Linked DNA regions of Homo sapiens: region 2 is linked to region 1. Evidence: promoter capture Hi-C in human tissues and cell types (Jung and others, 2019). All regions are on one chromosome and are shown on one strand. Each heading gives the region's core, a stretch centred on a gene start or on the middle of the fragment in contact. The rest is flanking DNA. Distances are from core to core; before and after follow the strand shown.

The links. The method cuts DNA at HindIII sites, captures the fragments that hold promoters and counts their contacts. A contact is called where the count stands out against the background at its distance.
Region 2: a contact is called between the fragment with the promoter of RNH1 here and the fragment with the promoter of IRF7 in region 1, in 1 of the 25 tissues and cell types used here (spleen).

What each region holds. Positions count from the first base shown.
Region 1 is chr11:614,674-617,199 of GRCh38, forward strand. IRF7 (interferon regulatory factor 7) reads right to left here and starts at 1,277. Exons shown (of 11, transcript NM_001572.5): 1 at 1,240-1,277; 2 at 672-974; 3 at 424-586; 4 at 124-334. The coding sequence starts at 691. CDHR5 (cadherin related family member 5) reads right to left here. Exons shown (of 15, transcript NM_021924.5): 15 at 1,910-2,526. RefSeq lists an enhancer at 139-733. The HindIII fragment of the contact is 18,510 bases long and covers 1-2,526 here.
Region 2 is chr11:505,906-508,605 of GRCh38, forward strand. RNH1 (ribonuclease/angiogenin inhibitor 1) reads right to left here and starts at 1,337. Exons shown (of 11, transcript NM_203387.3): 1 at 1,208-1,337. It also overlaps a transcript of LRRC56 not described here. RefSeq lists an enhancer at 606-775 and a cis regulatory region at 691. The HindIII fragment of the contact is 14,362 bases long and covers 1-2,700 here.

The sequences.
Region 1 (2,526 bases), core at 27-2,526:
GTCCTGGGCCTGCTGGCAGCCTCTCCCAGAACAGCTTCTAAAACCACAAATCTGACCCAGAGAATGTTCCCCTTTGCCCAAGCAGGACGAATGCCAACGCCCTTGGCAGCCGGCGTCGCTCACCTCGCCAGCACAGCTCCCGGCTGAGCGCGTACACCTTGTGCGGGTCGGCCGGGTCCCCCGAGTTATCCCGCAGCATCACGAAGCGACGCGTGCTGCGCAGTGCGCAGCGGAAGTTGGTTTTCCAGCCGGCGCGCTCCGCAGTCTCAGCCTCGGGGGGCGGGCCACCTCCCCTGCTGCTAGGCGGCCACCTGCCGCGGGCCACAGCCCAGGCCTGAAGAGGGGGACAGAACACGTGTGCCGGGCCCGCGGGGTCCTAGGCGGGCTCTCCCACCCGGGGCGGGGCGGGGCTGGGGTCCCCACCTTGAAGATGCGCGCGTCGGCCTCGCTCAGGTCCTTGCGCGCGAAGTGCTTCCAGGGCACGCGGAAACAGGTGCGGGCCTCGTCCAGCCACTGCAGCCCCTCATAGCAGCCGCTGCTGATCTCTCCAAGGAGCCACTCTCCGAACAGCACGCGTGGGGCTGCCCTGCGGGTGCCCGGCCGCGGAGAGTCAGGGCCGGCTGCAGGGCGCTCGGGGACTGGCATCTGGAGAGGGTGGGCCGGGCTCTTACCTCTCAGGAGCCAAGGCCATTGCTCCTTCTGCAGGGGCAGTTAGGTGGCGGTCAGGTGTTATAACAGGGGAGGTAAGGGCTCCTGTCGCAGCAGACGCCAGGCCGCGGCCACAGGTCGTGTGGCCAGGTGTCACAGGTGTCCACAGGTGTGGACTGAGGGCTTGTAGCCACCGACGCTGCCTCGGTATGGATCTCTTGGCAGAGGGGGCTACAGGTGTGACTGCAGGTGTGGCCGGCGCGCACACATGAAGTCACAGGTGTTGAACCAGTGTCCAGGCCTGGCGGGAAGGCGCAGGCCGGACCCTGCGGAGACGGGAAAGGCGACGTCAGGGGCGGGTCAGGCTCCCGGGAAAGCGAAACCTAAACAGTGGCGCTTCGCACCCTCCTCGATCCCACCCCGTCCGGTTCTCAGCTCCGCGGAACCCCGCCTCCGCCTCCGCCTCCCTCCCCGCCCGACCCTCATCTCTCAGGCTCCCCCAGCTCTTGGCTCTACCCCTCCGGGGTCACGGAGCCCCCACGGAGGCTCTCGCTCCCGGCCTGCACCGCGTGGGTCTGGGGTCCCCAGTACCTGGGTGCCAGAGCCGCCGGGACGGGAAGTTTCGTCTCGCGGGGAAGCGGAGGGCCGGCGCTTTTATGGTGGCCAGGCGGGAGTTTCCGGGAAGGGCGCGCGCCGCCTGTTCTTATTATTGGATGCGACCAGCGGAACCCCGCCCCGGCCAGCGCGGAGTAGGGAGGAGTGGAGGGCGTTGGGAGTGGCTGCAGTGAGCCGAGATGGAGCCACTCCACTACAGCCCAGGGGACAGAGCAAGACTCAGTCTCAAAAAAAAAAGGAAGTGGGTAATGGGAGGTGGACGTGCCTCGAAAAAGGGGCAGCTGCACCGTTTGCGTTTCTTTTTTTGAGATGGAGTTTCGCTTTTGTTACCCAGGCTGGAGTGCGGTGGCACAATCTTGGCCCACCACAACCTCCGCCTCCCGGGTTCAAGTGATTCTCCTACCTAAGCCTCCCGAGTAGCTGGGATTACAGGCATGAACCACCACGCCCGGCTAATTTTGTATTTTTAGTAGAGACGGGGTTTCTCTATGTTGGTCAGGCTGGTGTCGAACTCCCGACCTCAGGTGATCTGCCCACCTCGGCCTCCCAAAGTGCTGGGATTTAGGCGAGAGCCGCCGTGCGCAGCCCCCTTTGGGTTTTTTACATTGTTCAGTCAAGAATATCAGATACTCTCACAATTAAAACATTTGGAAAGGAATTAATGGTGTATTTCCATTAGGGAAAGTGCTGACAAGCCGCAAGGGATCCCTTGATGGTTCTGGGCATGGGCGCCCAGCCTGGGCTCTGGCTTTGGGAGCAGCGAGGGGAATGTGTCTCTCACCCCTAGGCCTCCTGGTCTGGCTCCTGCTCAGGCCACACGGCGCACCCACCCCCAGCGCGCCTCAGTCCAGGTCACTGGGCAGGGTGTTTACTGCTGCGCTCCAACCCAAGCATGTAGATTTCAGAAGGGGACTAGGACCCCCGGCAGGTGTTTGAGACCACCGGCTCCCAAGTGCGTCGCCTTGGGGGTTTGCATCGGCTCCTCAGCCTCCCCAGGCAATCTCTGTGTAGGGTCGGGAGCGGGAGGTCTGAGATGAGCCGGGTGCCTGAGATCTCCGGTGCAGGTCGGGGGAGGGGAGCCCCCCTCGGGCTGTGGTTAGAGCGGGAGAGGAACTTCCCAGACTAGCTGGCACAGAGCCTCGGGAAGGCGGCGGGCACTGCAGGTGGTTTACGGGAAGTGCTGCAGCCTTGGGGTGGGGACAGCGTGGCCAGACCCACCGCCTCATCTGCACACCTGGGCTCAAGCGCTAATGACGACAGGGG
Region 2 (2,700 bases), core at 87-2,586, 110 kb before region 1:
GTTTCGCTCTTGTCAGCCGGCTGGAGTGCAGTGGCACGATCTCGGCTCACCGCAACCTCCGCCTCCTGAGTTCAAGCCATTCTCCTACCTCAACCTCCCAAGTAGCTGGGATTATAGGCGCCTGCCACCACGCCCGGCTAATTTTGTATTTTTAGTAGAGACGGGTTTTCACCATGTTGGCCAGGCTGTTCTCGAACTCCTGACCTCAGGTGATCCGCCTGCCTCTGACTGCCCGGCCCAGTGTAACTGTTAACGGCAACATCGTGTGCAGTCTCCGGCTTGCATTCGGTTTAGTCAGCCAATCGCTAAGACGACACTTGAGACCGTTTTCAGATCTTTAGGCTTTCCACCATCCTAGAAGGGGGCCTGCCTGGTTCTAAGGCCCTTCTGAAACACTGCCAAACTGTCCTCGGGAAACGGTGCAGAAGTCCTCTGGTTTCCCCCAAGGCGCGTGGGCACCTTGGCTGGAACCTCGCCCAGTAACACGACGTGCCTGGGGCCCCTTCGTCATTTCCGCCAACCCCGGTGACAACCCTGACACCGGCCCCTAAGTGCCATTCCAGTTATGTTGCTCTCCTCCCCGCAGCCCCAGGCGGCAGCTTCGCGGCCCGGCGTCCGGTCCCCCGGTGGTCCCGGAGCGAAGCTCCGCAATGGAGAGCGGAGGACCCTCCCTCCCCGACCTCGCACGACCAAGACCGCCCACCTTTCCCCCAACGCCCGGCTGTGGGAGCCGTTCGAGTCTTCTCCGCCAGGGCGCTCCTTCCCGGGAGGCCGCTTCTTTGGGGGAATAAGGTCAAGGATTACGGGATTTGGGGAAGCAAGCTCGGCTGGGCCAGGATTGCTTGCGTAGCTCGCTGGAATCTAAGGCACTAGAGGGCTTGACGGCCACGTGAGGACGAACCACGCAGGCGCAGCCCCGCGCCCCGGGCAAGGACTTCCGGCAAGCCCCAAAGGGGAGCGTGCACCGCGATGACGTCCTCAAGGCGCGCCACGTCCGCCCGGCGGCGCAGCTGCCCAGCGCAACCTCGGCCCCGCCTCGATAGCCCCGGACCCCTGCCCCGCCCGACCCCGCCCCGCCACGGGAGCGCGCCACTCGCCCGCGCAGCAACGGCCTCAATAGCGCCAGGCCCGCGTCTACAAGAAGCCCGACCAAGGCCGGCGTGGGCGAGGCCTGGCTAGACGCTGACGCACCGCTGGAGCTACTGACCTCGGGACGACTGGCGGACGGTCGCGGGCCTGGAGACCCAGAGCGAGACGGCCTACTTCGTTCTCGAGCCAGCAGAACGGGTTGAACGTGTCGACAACCCCACCCGCCAGTCAGCGGCGCGGGCGTGTTCGAGCCGGCTCGTGGGCGTGGTCAGGTGCGTGGGCGGGGACTACTGGGCGGGGCTCGGCGCGGGGGCGGGGCCTGGCGGGAGTAGTCTCGGGGTCGGGGCGGGGCCCGGCGGGCGGGGCTCGGCTAAGCACAGTCTTGGCGCAGCGGCGGGGCCTGGTGGGGCGTGGCTCGGTGAGGGAGGTCTCGCTTGGGGGCGTGGTCTCCCCCAGTAGGCGGGGCTTGGTGCCGGGGGCGGGGTCTGGCGGGCGCGGGCGCGTGTGCGTGTTGTGGGCCTCGCACTGGCACGCAAGTCTCAGCAATTCCTGAGAATCCTCGGAGGAAGAGGCCGGGGCCCGGTGCGGCAGCGCCTTGGGGGCGGAATCGCAGGCGCGGGTCGGGCCTTGCTGGGGCGCGGGGCGCGGCCCCCGGAGAAAGCGGCCGCCTCGGGACAGGAGGGACCCGGGAGAAACCCCCCTGGGGCGGCTCCGCATGTCGGGGTCGCGACTCTAGGCGACCTTGGTAGAGGGGCTCGTTTGCGCCGAGCTCGCGACCCCCGAGGGAGCCACGGCCCCGTGAACCACGCTGCCCGTCCTGGCCACTGGCTGCCGCCTTTGTTTCGTGGGACCCCAGCCCGCAAGGCCTGCGGAGCCGCGGCCTCGTCCCGAGTGTTCTGAGCGCGGTCCGAGCTGCTCCTGCGTCCACTCTGCTGCCGACACCCGAGCGTCGCCTGGAGCCCTGGCACTGAGGGGCGCAGGCCGAGTTCCAGACCAGCCTGGGAAACGCAAAGCGACCCCACCTCCACAAAAGTGGGTTTTCTTTAAGTTTTTGACTAGTCCGCAATTCACAGAATTGACATTTTGGCAGATGAAGATTGCAAGTAAGGAAACTAACGGTATCTCAGATTTGTTCTTTAGCAATTTGCTAAACCTCTCCTCTGACTGCCTTTATTAGGTATTTGTTTTCGAGACAGGGTCTCACTCCACTGCTTAGGCTGTACTGCAGTGGCGCGATCCCAGCTCGCTGCAGCCTCCACCTCCCGGACTCCAGTGATCCTCCCGCCTCAGCCTCCCAAGTAGCTGGTACCACAGGCGCCAGCACGCCTGGCTAATTGTTGTATTTTATGTAGAGAAGAGGTCTCCCTGTGTTGCCCAGCCTGGTCTTGAATTGGGCTCAAGTGATCCTCCTGCTTCAGCCTCCCATATCGCTGGAATTACTGGCATAAGCCACTACACCCGGCCTGATCATCTTTAAAGAAGGTGGTTCTGGCCGGGCGTGGTGGCTCACACCTGTAACCCCAACACTTTGGGAGACCGAGAAGGGTGGATCACCTGAGGTCAGGAGTTCAAGACCAGCCTGGCCAACGTGGTGAAACCCCATCTCTACTA